2 separate regions of the Homo sapiens genome follow, and region 2 is linked to region 1. Evidence: promoter capture Hi-C in 16 types of primary human blood cells and fetal thymus (Javierre and others, 2016). All regions are on one chromosome and are shown on one strand. The core of a region is centred on a gene start or on the middle of the fragment in contact, and the rest is flanking DNA. Distances in the headings are between cores, read along the strand shown. Region 1 holds the start of ASXL1 (ASXL transcriptional regulator 1). Region 2 overlaps C20orf203 (chromosome 20 open reading frame 203).

The links. Contacts are between HindIII fragments. The CHiCAGO score rates a contact against its expected background, and 5 or more counts as called.
Region 2: a fragment that was not itself captured here is called in contact with the fragment with the promoter of ASXL1 in region 1 in 1 of 17 cell types (naive CD8 T cells); the score reaches 5.5 in naive CD8 T cells.

What each region holds. Positions count from the first base shown.
Region 1 is chr20:32,355,515-32,361,665 of GRCh38, reverse strand. It overlaps ASXL1 (ASXL transcriptional regulator 1), which reads right to left and starts at 3,335. Exons shown (of 13, transcript NM_015338.6): 1 at 2,834-3,335. The coding sequence starts at 2,890. RefSeq lists silencers at 2,636-2,795, 3,036-3,085, 6,034-6,103. The HindIII fragment of the contact is 9,109 bases long and covers 1,308-6,151 here.
Region 2 is chr20:32,654,502-32,660,652 of GRCh38, reverse strand. All of the region lies in intron 1 of C20orf203 (chromosome 20 open reading frame 203), which reads left to right. Among named protein-coding and RNA genes, the nearest start is that of C20orf203, 16 kb to the left of the region's middle. The HindIII fragment of the contact is 2,606 bases long and covers 1,970-4,575 here.

The DNA.
Region 1 (6,151 bases), core at 2,086-4,585:
CCTTTTTCTTTTTTTCTTTTTTTTTTTTTTTTGAGACGAGTCTTGCTCTGTCACCCAGGCTGGACAGTGGCATGGCCTTGGCTCTCTGCAACCTCCACCTCCCAAGTTCAAGTGATTCTCCTGTCTCAGCCCCCTCAGTAGCTGGGATTACAGGCGTGCACCACCACACCCGGCTAATTTTTGTATTTTTAGTAGAGACTGGGTTTTACCTTGTTGGCCAAGCTGGTCTAGAACTCCTGACCCTGTGATCCACCCACCTCGGCGTCCCAAAGTGCTGGGATTACAGGCGTGAGCCACAGCGCCCAGCCTCATTATTTTTTTAGAGTCAGGGTCTCCCTCTATCACCCAGGCTGGAGTGCAGTGGTACAATCAATCATTGGGCACTGCAGCCTCCAACTCCTCGGCCTAAGCTATCCTCAGCCTCCTGAGTAGCTAGGACCACAGGTGTGTACCACCATGCCCAGCTCATTTTGTTGCTGTTGTTGTAGAGACCGGGTCTATGTTGCCCAGGCTCATCTCGAATTCCTAGCCTCAAGTGATTATTCCACCTCAGACTCCCAAAGTCTCGCAAATCCTTTTTCACATGTATAACAGCACCACAAAGTAATTCCTACTCATAGGCTGGGCGCGGTGGCTCACGCCTGTAATCCCAGCACTTTGGGAGGCCAAGGTGGGCGGATAACCTAAGGTCACGAGTTCGAGACCAGCCTGACCAGCATGGAAAAACCCCATCTTTACTAAAAATAAAAAATTAGCCGGGTGTGGTGGCAAACAAACGAAAAACAAACAAACAAAGTAATTCCTATTCATATTACTATTTTTAATGAAGAGCCTTAGAAGAAAAAGAGGAATAACTTACCCTGATAACCTGGCTTGAAGTTGAGTCAATGATAAAACAGAAATAGCAACCTCGATGTTGAAGTTCAGACCACGGTAAATTCGAGAATCTAAAGAGACTTAACAGTGGACCCCAAATTCCTAAAGTCAACTAGTAAGAGCCAACAGAACTTTGAGACAAACAGATTTCATAATTCTGTCAAGACATAAATAACACAAGACTTAAAAGTACTTTCACCTACCTCTAACAAGTAAAACTCTGGCAAGCAAATTTCCTTGGGTGCCCAGGGTCATAAACACCCGCATAACAGGAACGCCAAGGAGAATGTCAATGAACACACAAAACTCATTGTCGAGGAGGAGAACGAGAGCTCTCTCCCACTCCCCATCAGGCCTATATTTGTTTCCAGGTGCAGAACCGTTAGAGAAATCCTGAAATTTCTACAAGATCCTGAAAACTAGCCCAAGCTTCCAATTTTGACTCAATCAGAAAAAAAATATTTCGGAACCTCAAAATCTTCAAACTTCACATGCCAGGCCAAAATAAACTGAAGCACAAAACTTCAGCATACAAACAATTGCTATTTTTGTTCCCTGGGCAACAAATGACTAGGGAAGAGGATAGCAAGCACCAATGAAAATTCTGTAGCCCAAATTCCTTCAGTTTTTATAAATCTGTAACTTTTACAGACTTCGAGAAAGAAAAAGGTGTACTTCAGGTTTGTGTCAACCCCCCCAATACAGTCTATTTTTTTTTTTTTTGCACAACACCTTTGAAGCAGAAAACTCACTTCAAAATAAGAGAGAAAATTAAGTCTGAGCTTCACTCATCATTAAAACTGAATTACAACCATTACATATAAACTACAGTGTCAAGAGACACTTATGCTATCCGCACCACAACCTCGCTGTGTGACAGATCTTAGGAACTGACATCTTAGTATAACCTGTTACTACTGGTATCAGCAGATAATTACCCGAATATGTCTCAAAGTGTCTGAGCTTTGTGGGAGTAATCCAAAAGGAAGCTATTTCACCTGCAAGTCCTCTGACGCTCTGAACACAAAATTCACAACCCCCATCGGTTGAACGAGACGGCTTCAAACACTCAAGTTACGCTCTCCCTTGCTAAATCCTCAGTGAACAACGTCTCCCAACAGAGATACTTTGTCTTTGTCCAACATACATTCTTTGCAAAGTGGATTCAGTTCTCCTCAAAATACCAATTTCCAGTCCAGCTTCTGAAGGCAAACAGCCCAGTCTGCGTTTCTCAAAGTGGGGTCCGTGAGCCACTGCGTTTGAATCACCTGGGAAGCTGGTGAAAGCGCAGATTCCCAGGCTCTATCCCAGACCCTGAGGCTCAGCAGGTCTTACGAAGGGCCCTAGGAGTAGCGTTCCTAACCGCCTCCCAGGTGTCGCCCACAGGACACTAAAGTTAGAGAACCGCTGCTCAGGGTTCAAGCTGGGAGTAAGCACTTGCTTCCCTCCACGCACCTGGTTTAGATTGGGAAAGCTCAACATGCCATTGGCGTCCTTGAATGTGGGGTCGCTTTTCCACCCCCGGAGTCAAAGGCACCACCCCATTACCCACCAGGAAGCGAGGGAGGAGCTTCCGACCCTTCCCGGAAACCCAACTCCCCCGGGTGAATGAACGAAGCTGCCCCAGACCCCCAGACGCTGCCAAATAGTGGGGGAGGGGACGCGGGACCCCGCTGCCCAGAGTGGGAGGAGCCGGCCTGCCAGCTCGCCCCTCCGCCGGAATTTAGCTGCGCGGGGCGGGGGGGGCGCGAGGGCGAGCGGAAAAAGGCGCCACATCCCATCCCGGCGGAGCGCTCCCCACCCCTCGCCTTGCGGGGCTGTCCCGTTCTTAAAGGAAGATGGCCCCGCCCCCTCCCGCGGTGGGCAGGGCCTTGCCCCTCCCCCCCCAGTGGGGGGGTGCGCGGCGAGCCCCCCCCACCCCGGGCCCCACGGAGCCCCCCTCGGCTGTCCGCCTCACCAGGCGCGCGGCCTCGGCCCACGTGCGCTCCTTCTTCTTCTTCTGTTTGTCCTTCATCCTTCTCCCCGGCGGCGGCGGCAGCTCCACGCGGGACCTCCGGGCTGGGCGGGCTGGGGCGGTGGCGCGGGGCTGGGGCGGCGGCGGCGGTGGGGGGGGCGCGTGGCAGCGGCGGCGCGCGAGGTCTCGGGTGCGGCCGGGGAGAAGGGGCGGGCACGCGGGGACCGGCTGGCGCGAGAGCGGCGGTGGGGGAGGGGCGGCGGCGGCTCCACGCGCCCGCGCTGCGTCAGTCGCCCACGGCGGCAGCGGCGGCTGCCCCGCGATCGCTAAGGAATGCGGCGGCTCCGCATAACCACGGGGTCAGAGGTCACGGCTCCGGCCTCCGCTTTCCCGCTCTGCTGAGGGACTGAGACAGGACCGACGGCGGGGCGGGAGGGCGAGACGCGGCTTTCCCTTCGGCGCCCGGGTGCGTGCGTGTCTGCCGTGGGTGTGTGTGAGTGTGTGTGAAGAGTGAGGAGGGGGAGTGTGGGGTTTTTTTTTTTTGAACAAAAACAAACCGAAAGGGCGCCTGGGAGTCGTAGTCCCAACGGCCTCTCTGGCCTCCCCCGCTCCGGAAGAATATGGCCGCGTGAAGCGCGTGGACCACACTTCCCGGCGTGCCCGGCGGCCCCCTTCCGCTCTCCCTCTCGCGTCCTCCGCCTAGCACCGACCTCAGCTAGGAACGGGGACGGGTCGCTGTTCGGGGAAGGGGCTGGGTGGAGTCTCGCGAGGTGCGAGAACTGGCTGGGGGCCTGCGGGATTCTGGGAGGCGATGCTGGGAAGGGGCGGTGGCTGGGCTCCCCCGGCCACCCTTAACCCCTTCGGTGCTTTTTGCTTCAGGACCTCCTGGCGGGTGCGGGTGGGGAGTGAGGATGGGGAGCTCGACTCGCAGTTCCCACTTCGTGCTTCTCCTCGCCTAAACGGTTCTTACCTACACTTCTCGTAGGGGACGAGAGGCAGGACTTTCCCTTTTGGTCACCTCTAAATGACTCACTGCCACATAATAATGAGACAAAAAGACCCTCATACCAGTAAAACGGTTATTCCACGGCTGATGGACTTAGACGGTTCTTCATTTCTTCCTGTGCTTTCAGGCCGCTGTGTATTTGCAGAGCCTGCACCAGCAGCCTAGAGCGTTCTTAGGAACTTGGTGATATGTTGACGGGTCGTGTAAAGAACTTGGACTCTGGGGCCATACTGACCAGAATGCACCTGAGGGCGTTTTTAGAGGCAGTACCCTGGAGAGAATTCAGGCCCTGGAGTCCAGCGGACCTAGACTGGAATCTTGGCTGAGTCACTCCCTGGCTGTCCACTCAACCTCTCTGAGCCTCAGTTTTCTGATCTGCATTTGTCTTGTATTTCATGGCATTATTGGAATTAAAATTAACATACAATTCTTGACAGATTGGAAGAGGATGTGAAGGGAGATCTTGACATTATCAGGTCCGTATGATATGGCGCCTGGCATAGAGCAAATGTTTAATAAATGGTAGCTGTTATTACCAGCTGAGAAACAATAGGCAATATACTTAGCCTCTCTGAGCCTTAGTTTTAGAACCTGAAATGAAATTCAGAGCGCCCAGCACATAGGTTTTCTGTAACTATAGGTTCAGTCGTTGTCCAGAAACATTTCTAGAGTCCGTCCGGAGTTGGATTGATGCCAGCTCTTAAAAACTATGAAGGCAGGATCAGTGGCCACATTTAAACGGTTTCCCTGGGTGAGGAAACACACTCTCCACTCCCTAATGTTAACACGTAGCGAGAGCCAGTATTGATAGGAGACCATTATGGTGTAGCCCAAACTCTAACGCCAAGGGGTTCAGTGTTTTCTGCTTCTAATACTGGTCACAGAAAACTTGTGAGTCCGGTAAGCAAAATCCTACAAAGGGAAAAGACTGCAAGTTAGAATAAGACACCTCTTAAAAATCTCTCTAGCTTTACCCTGAGAGAAAGGAGGAACTACTGTCCCTCAAAAAACTGTTTGCCTTGATTTTTTACAAAGGATTTTTAACTTCTTTTTTTTCAATCTACGGCTGATACAGTACTCTTTGGCAAGTCATTTGGCTTCTTTCCGATGTCTTCTGAAGTAGCTTTACTGCCCTCTGACCTACAGGGAATAACTGAAATTTACATGTTTAATACAGGTACTGTGGTAGACAGAATAATGTCTTCCCCGCTTGCCCAAAACTGTCCAAGTCCTAGTCCCTGGAACCTGTGAATATGTTGCTTTTTTATTTATTTATTTATTTATTTTTTGAGACAGAGTCTCGCTGTGTTACCCAGGCTGGAGTGCAGTGGCGTGATCTTGGCTAACTGCAACCTCCGCCTCCTGGGTTCATGCGATCCTCCTGCCTCAGCCTCCCAAGTAGCTGAGATTACAGGCATGCGCTACCATGCCCAGCTAATTTTTGTATCTTTAGTAGTGACTGGGTTTCTCCATGTTGGCCAGGCTGGTCTTGAACTCCTGACCTCAGGTGATCCACCCATCTCGGCCTCCCAAAGTGCTGGGATTACCAGCCAGCATTCTTTGGCAAAAGATATTTTGCCAATGGAAATAAAGCCCTTAAAATTAGATGATTCCGTATTATATGGGTGAGCCCAGTGTAATCACATGAACCCTTAAAAGCACAAAAGGGAGGCAAAAGAGATGTTTTGGAGAGATGAGGCAGAGGAATTAAATTCAAAGTATGAGAGGAATTCAACCCACTGTTACTGGCTTTGAAAGTGGCCACAAGCCAGGGAATCCAGGCAGCCTCCAAAAGCTCAGAGGAAGTCCTGCCAAGAGCCAGCAAGGAAATGGGGACTTCAGTCCTACAACCTCACAGAGCTGAATTCTGACAAGCTGAATGAACTTGGGAACAGATTATACCCCCTCCCCAACTCTCTAGAAAGGAATATAGACACCTTGATTTCAGCCTCGTGAGACTGGAAGCAGAGAATCAGCTGAGCCATGGAATCCAGACGTCGGGCCCACAAGAAGCGTGAAACAGAAATGAATATTGTTTTATGACACTAAATCTGTGGTAACTTCTTACAGCCCCAAAAGAAAGCTAATACAGGCATTATGGAAACACCTTTATTTCTTTCAGCGAACACTGCCTGACTTCAGCTGGGTCAAACCATGGGGGAATCCAGATTTGAATATTTCAAGGTCTCTGCCCTTGCAGAATCAGACAGAAACAAGTGACAACATCGTAGTTAAGTGTGAAAACAGTATGTTCAGAGAACGGTACAGATATGTTAGAAAGTTGGCTTTAGTCATTAAACCTTAAGTAGATGTGA
Region 2 (6,151 bases), core at 2,023-4,522, 300 kb before region 1:
AAACTATGAGGCTTCCTGTCCATGTGACTTTGGACAAGTCACTTGACCTCCCTGAGCCTTCACTGTCTCCTCTGTAAAATAGGGCCATTGAAAGGGTTTTGTGAGGCTCAGTGCTGATGGCCTAGCACAGTCAGTGCCTGGCAGGTCATGGGCACTCAGGGAGAAGCAGCCCCTCTTTTCGGCAGCAGCGTGGCCTCTCGAAGGTGTGAGCTCCCTGGCATGAGCTGGCCAACCGATTGACCAGTGAAAGGGCATGGAGTAAGCTCGGGCCTGGACTGGCTGAGGAGGCAGTTACAGATCCCCTGAAACCCTGGTTGCTGTTCCTGGCACCTTGGCCCTTGGCTCTGTCATTCAGTGTCCTTTCTCCTGCTGGGAAGGGCACATCCTGTGGCTGGGTGGCTCGGCTGGGAGATGGACCCAGATCCTCTGGAGAGCTGCCCCCCAACCTCCCTGCAATGGGAAAGGTGCTTACCGCACAGCCTCAGAGAGCTTCCCACTGGGCTGCCCTGTACAGGACAGGAGTAGCAACTGTGCCCCAGAGGTGTAGTCCCCATGTGGTCTGCTCCCTGGGCCTTTAAAATGGGGGGAAATAAAGTCAGAATGAAGACTTATAGATCTGCTGAGAAGAGCAAATGCGCTGGCATACAGGACAGCACACTGGCCACTGACACACACTCCCCAGGTTACAACACAACTGTGTTGATGTGGATGATGATGATGATGATGATGTTAATATAATACATTTGATATAATTATATGTCATAATAATTATTGCTATTATCTATTATTATTAATTGATATTACTAGTGCCAGCCACGGAGGTGGGGAGCATGCCCATGGCCCCTCACAGGTGAAAGAGGCTGCCTGGTATGGCAGCTGAGAGCACAGGCTCTGGCTTGCACCTCTTCCTGCCACACAGTCACTGTGGGACATGGACAAGTGGCCTTCCCCTCTCATTCTCAGAGTCCTCATCTGGGAAATGAGGGAAGGCACCCTTCCTGGGATCCTGGCAGAATTCACTGAGGTCCACCCATGAGGGGTCCAGCCAGGTCCAGTCTCAAAGATAGTGGCTGCTGCAGGCACCTCCACTTTGAGCACCTGGGTCCACTCATGTAGGTTCCCTGAGCCTCAGTTTGCTCATCTGTACAATGAAGATGGTGGTCCCACCCATCACTTCAGGTCATCAGGAGGAGGAAATAAAATGAATCAGGTACATCACCTAGCAGGACTGCCTGATGCGTAGAGAGTGTTCATTGAGCTGCGATAATGTTTTTGTGCTGGTAGTAGGCAGGATGAGAACCTGCCCCTAGCCCCAGGCCTCCTGCCCAGGGCTTCTCCTCCTTGGTGAATTGTACGGCCAGAAACAGGGTGACCTTCATCAAGCCAGGATTACATTCCCAGTGTCTTTGGAGTGTGGGGCAAGGGGGTCGGCTGTGCAGCAGCTGCACCAGCTGCCCTGAAAGAGAAGGGGTCTTAGGCCGGGCACGGTGGCTCATGCCTGTAGTCCCAGCACTTTAGGAGGCCAAGGCAGGTGGATCACTTGAGTTTGGGAGTTTGAGACCAGCCTGACCAACATGGAGAAACCCCATCTCTACTAAAAATACAAAAAATTAGCCAGGCGTGGTGGTGCATGCCTGTAGTCCCAGCTACTCGGGAGGCTGAGGCAAGAGAATCATTTGAACCCAGGAGGCGAAGGTTGTGGTGAGCCGAGATCACGCCATTGTACTCCAGCCTGGGCAACAAGAGCGAAACTCTGTTTAAAAAAAAAAAAAGAGAAGTGGGTCTGAGTCTCTGGGAAGCCGCAGTGGGGTCTAGGCCTTGAATCAGCCCTGGACGCCAAGGCCGGAGGACGCTGAGCCTTGGTCTTCTCCTGCTCCATCTCCCTGTAGCTCCAGTGTCATTCCCCACCTACCCTTTGTGCTCACACAATGTCAGGGCCAAAGGAATGCCTGCAACACAGCAAAAAGCTTTATTGTTTTTTCTGTCTGTAGAAGTGATTATTATCCATTGCAGTAACAAAAATTGGAAAATTCAGTAAAATATAAATTAAGAGTATCATAGATTGGGTGTGGTAGTTCACTCCTGTAATCCCAGCCCTTTGGGAGGCTGAGGTGGGAGGATTGCTTGAGCCCAGGAGTTTGGGGCCAGCCTGGGCAATATAGCAAGACCCCAGCTCTAAAAGAAAAAATTCAAAAATTAGCTGGGCATGGTAGTGTACATCTGTAGTCTCAGTTACTTGAGAGGATTCCTTGAGCCCAGGAGTTTGAGGCTGCAGTGAGCCGTGATCCTGCCACTGCACTCCAGCCTGGGTGAGAGTGAGCCCTGTTCTCCAAAAATAAAAAGAGTACCCTAAATCCTAAATTTCCAGGTATTTTTGTTATACACATATAGATACAGATTTTTTCATAAGAATGGAATCCTATTATGCTTGCTTCTTAAAAATCAGAATGCCAGGTGCCAGCTAATTTTTGTATTTTTGGTAGAGTTGGGGTTTCACCGTGTTGGCCAGGCTGGTCTTAAACTCCTGACCTCAGGTGATCCGCCCGTCTCGGCCTCCCAAAGTGCTGAGATACAGGCGTGAGCCACCGTGCCCAGCTGAAATTTTATCTTCTTAAAGTCTCTTAAGTACCTGTTTTAATCTGCATGCTTTCTTTTTCTTTCTTTCTTTCTTTTTTTTTTTTTAGGTTTGGGGGCGCACAGAGTCTAGCTCTGTTGCCCAGGCTGGAGTGCAGTGGCGCAATCTCAGCTGACTATAACCTCCACCTCCCAGGTTCAAGGGATTCTTCTGCCTCAGCCTCCTGAGTAACTGGGATTAGGGGTGCCCACCACCATGTCTGGCTAATTTTTATATTTTTAGTAGAGACGGGGTTTTGCCATATTGGCCAGGCTGGTCTCGAACTTCTGATATCAAGTGATCCTCCTGCCTTGGCCTCCCAAAGTGCTGGGATTACAGGCAGAAGCAACCTTGCCCAGCCTACAGGCTTATTTTTGAACCTGCTTTTTTTTTCTTTTGACTTGGTGGTATATCTTGGACCTCATCGATGTTAGTAAATGTGACGCCTTTTTATTTATTTTTAAAATTTTGTTTTAGAGATGAGGTCTCACTATGTTGCCCAGGCTGGTCTCAAACTCCTTTGTTGTTGTTGTTGTTGTTGTTGTTTTGGAGACAGAGTCTCGCTGTGTCGCCCAGGCTGTAGTGCAGTGGTGAGATCTCAGCTCACTGCAACCTCCTCTTCCTGAGTTCAAGTGATTCTCCTACCTCAGCCTCCCGAGTAGCTGGGATTACAGGTGCCTACCACCACGCCTGGCTAATTTTTGTATTTTTAGTAGAGACAGGGTATCACCATGTTGGCCAGCCTGGTCTGGAACTCTTGGCCTCAAGTGTTCCACTCGCCTCAGCCTCCCAAAGTGCTGGGATTACAGGTGTGAGCCACCATGGCCAGCCTCAGCTAATTTTTAATTTTTTTGTAGAGATGGGGTCTCACTGTGTTGCTCAGGCTGGTCCTGAACTCCTGGCCTCAGGTGATTCTCCCACCTCAGCCTCCCAAAGTGCTGGGATTACAGGTGTGAACCACTGTGTCTGGCCCCAGCATGATGTTTGTAAGGTTTATCTATGTTACAGCATGTGTCAGCACTTTAGTCCTCCTTTTTATTGCTGAATAATATTCCATTGTATGAATATACCACCTTTCATTTATCCATTCATCAGCTGATGGACATTTGGGTTGTGGTTGTTTCTATTTTGGGGGAATAATGCTGCTATGACTAGTCATGTAAGATTTTTTTTTTGAGATGGAGTCGTACTCTGTTGTCCAGGCTGGAGTGCAGTGGTGCGATCTTGGCTCACTGCAACCTCTGCCTCTGGGGCTCAAGCGATTCTCATGCCTCAGCCTCCTGAGTAGCTGGGACTACAGGTACATGCCACCACACCTGGCTATTTTTTTTCTATTTTTGGTAGAGACAGGGTTTCACCATGTTGCCCTGGGTGTTCTCGAACTGCTGAACTCCGAAAATCCACCTGCCTTGGCCTCCCAAAGTGCTGGGATTACAGGCATGAGCCACTGCGCCCGGCCTTATGTAAGTTTTTATGTGAATACATGTTTTCATTTCTCTTGGGTATATACCTTTTAGGTGCAGAATTGCTGGATCATGTAACTCTATATATAACCTTTTGAACTGCCAGGCTTTTTCCAAAACGTTTTACATTCTTACCAGCAGTGTATGAGGGTTCTGATTTCTCCATATTCTCATCAACACTTGTTATTATCTGTCTTTTTTATTATAACTAACCTAGTGGGTACAAAGTGCTATCTCATTGTGGTTTTGACTTGCATTTTCCTAATGACTAATGATGTTGAGTATCTTTTCATGTGCTTATTGGCCATTTGTATGTCTTCTTTGGAGAAATGTCTATTTACATCCTATGCCCATGCATTAGTCTGTTTGCATTGCTATAAAGGAATAGCTGAGACTGAGTAATTTGTAAAGAAAAGAGGTTTATTTGGCTCACAGTTCTACAGGCTGTACAGGACACATGGCACCAGCACCTGCTCCTGGAGTAGGCCTCAGGAAGCTTCCAATCATGGCAGAAGGCAAAGGGGAGCCAGTGTGAGCAAGAGAAAGGGTGGGCACTGCCAGCCTCCTTCAGACAACCAGCTCTCTTGTGAACTAACAGAGCAAGAACTCCCTCATTACTGTGAGGAGGGCACCAAGCCATTCATGAGGGAGTCACCTCCGTGACCCAAACATCTCCCAGCAGGCCCCACCTCCAGCGCTGGAGATCACATTTCAACATGAGATTTGGAGGAGACAAACATCCCAACCATATCTGCCTGTTTCTATTTTTATTTTTTAAATTTTGAGGTGGAGTCTTGCTCTGTCACCCAGGCTGGAGTGCAGTGGTGTGATCTTGGCTCACTGCAACCTCCACCTCCTGGGTTCAAGTGATTCTCCTGCCTCAGCCTTCTGAGTAGCTGGGATTACAGGCGTCTGCCACCACGCCGGGCTAATTTTTATATTTTTAGTAGAGATGGGGTTTCTCCATGTTGGCCAGGTTGGTCTTGAACTCATGACCTCAGGTGATCTGCCCACCTCAGCCTCCCAAAGTGCTGGGATTACAGGAGTGAGCACCACACTTGGCTCAGCCCATTTTTAAACTGGGCTATTTGTCTTTTATTATTGAGTTGTAAGGGTTCTTTATATATGCTGGTTAGAATCTGTTATCAGATATATGATTGTCAGTTATTTTCTCCTATCCTGTGGGTTGTCTTTTCACTTTTTTGATAGTGTCCAGTCTCAAGCGATCCTCCTGCCACAGCCTCCCAAAGTGCTGGGATTTCAGGTGTGAGCCACCATGCCTGATGCAAAATTTTAAATTCTGATGAAGCCTAGTCTATTTTTTCTTTGGTTGCTTGTGCTTTTGGTATCATATTTATGAAACTATTGCCTAATCCAAGGTCATGAAGATTTATGTCTATGTTCTCAGAGTTTTATAGTTTTAGCTCCTACATTTGTTTTCATCCACTTTAATTTTTGTGTATGGTGTGAGGCAGGGGTCTGACCTCTTTCTTTTGCAAGACTCTGTTTTCCCCATTGAACTCCACCATTAAATATGTTCGGCTCTTGCGGCTGAACCAAATGTGAGGGTTTATTTCTGGACTCTCAGGACTCTTATTTATATTTCATTGATCTCTATGTCTGTCCTTATGCCAGTACCACATTGTCCTGATTACTGTAGTTTATTATAGTAATTTTTGAAATTGGAAGTGTGTGCACTCCAACATTGTTCATTTTTTCTTCTTCTTTTTTTGGGGAAGGATCTTGCTGTGTCACACGGGCTGGAATGCAGTGGCACATTCTTGGTTCACTGCAATCTCTACCTCCCAGGTTCAAGTGATCCTCCCACCTCAGCCTCCTGAGTAGCTGGGACTACAGGCACATGCCACCACACCCAGCTAAATTTTTGTATTTTTTGTAGAGATGAGGTTTCACCATATCACCCAGGCTGGTCTCAAACTCCTGGACTCAAGTGATCTGCCCACCTCGGCCTCCCAAAGTGCTGGGATTACGGACATAAGCTACCACGCCTGGCCCACCATTATTCTTTTTCAGGACTGTTTTAGCTTTTCTGAGTCCCTTAAATTTCCATATG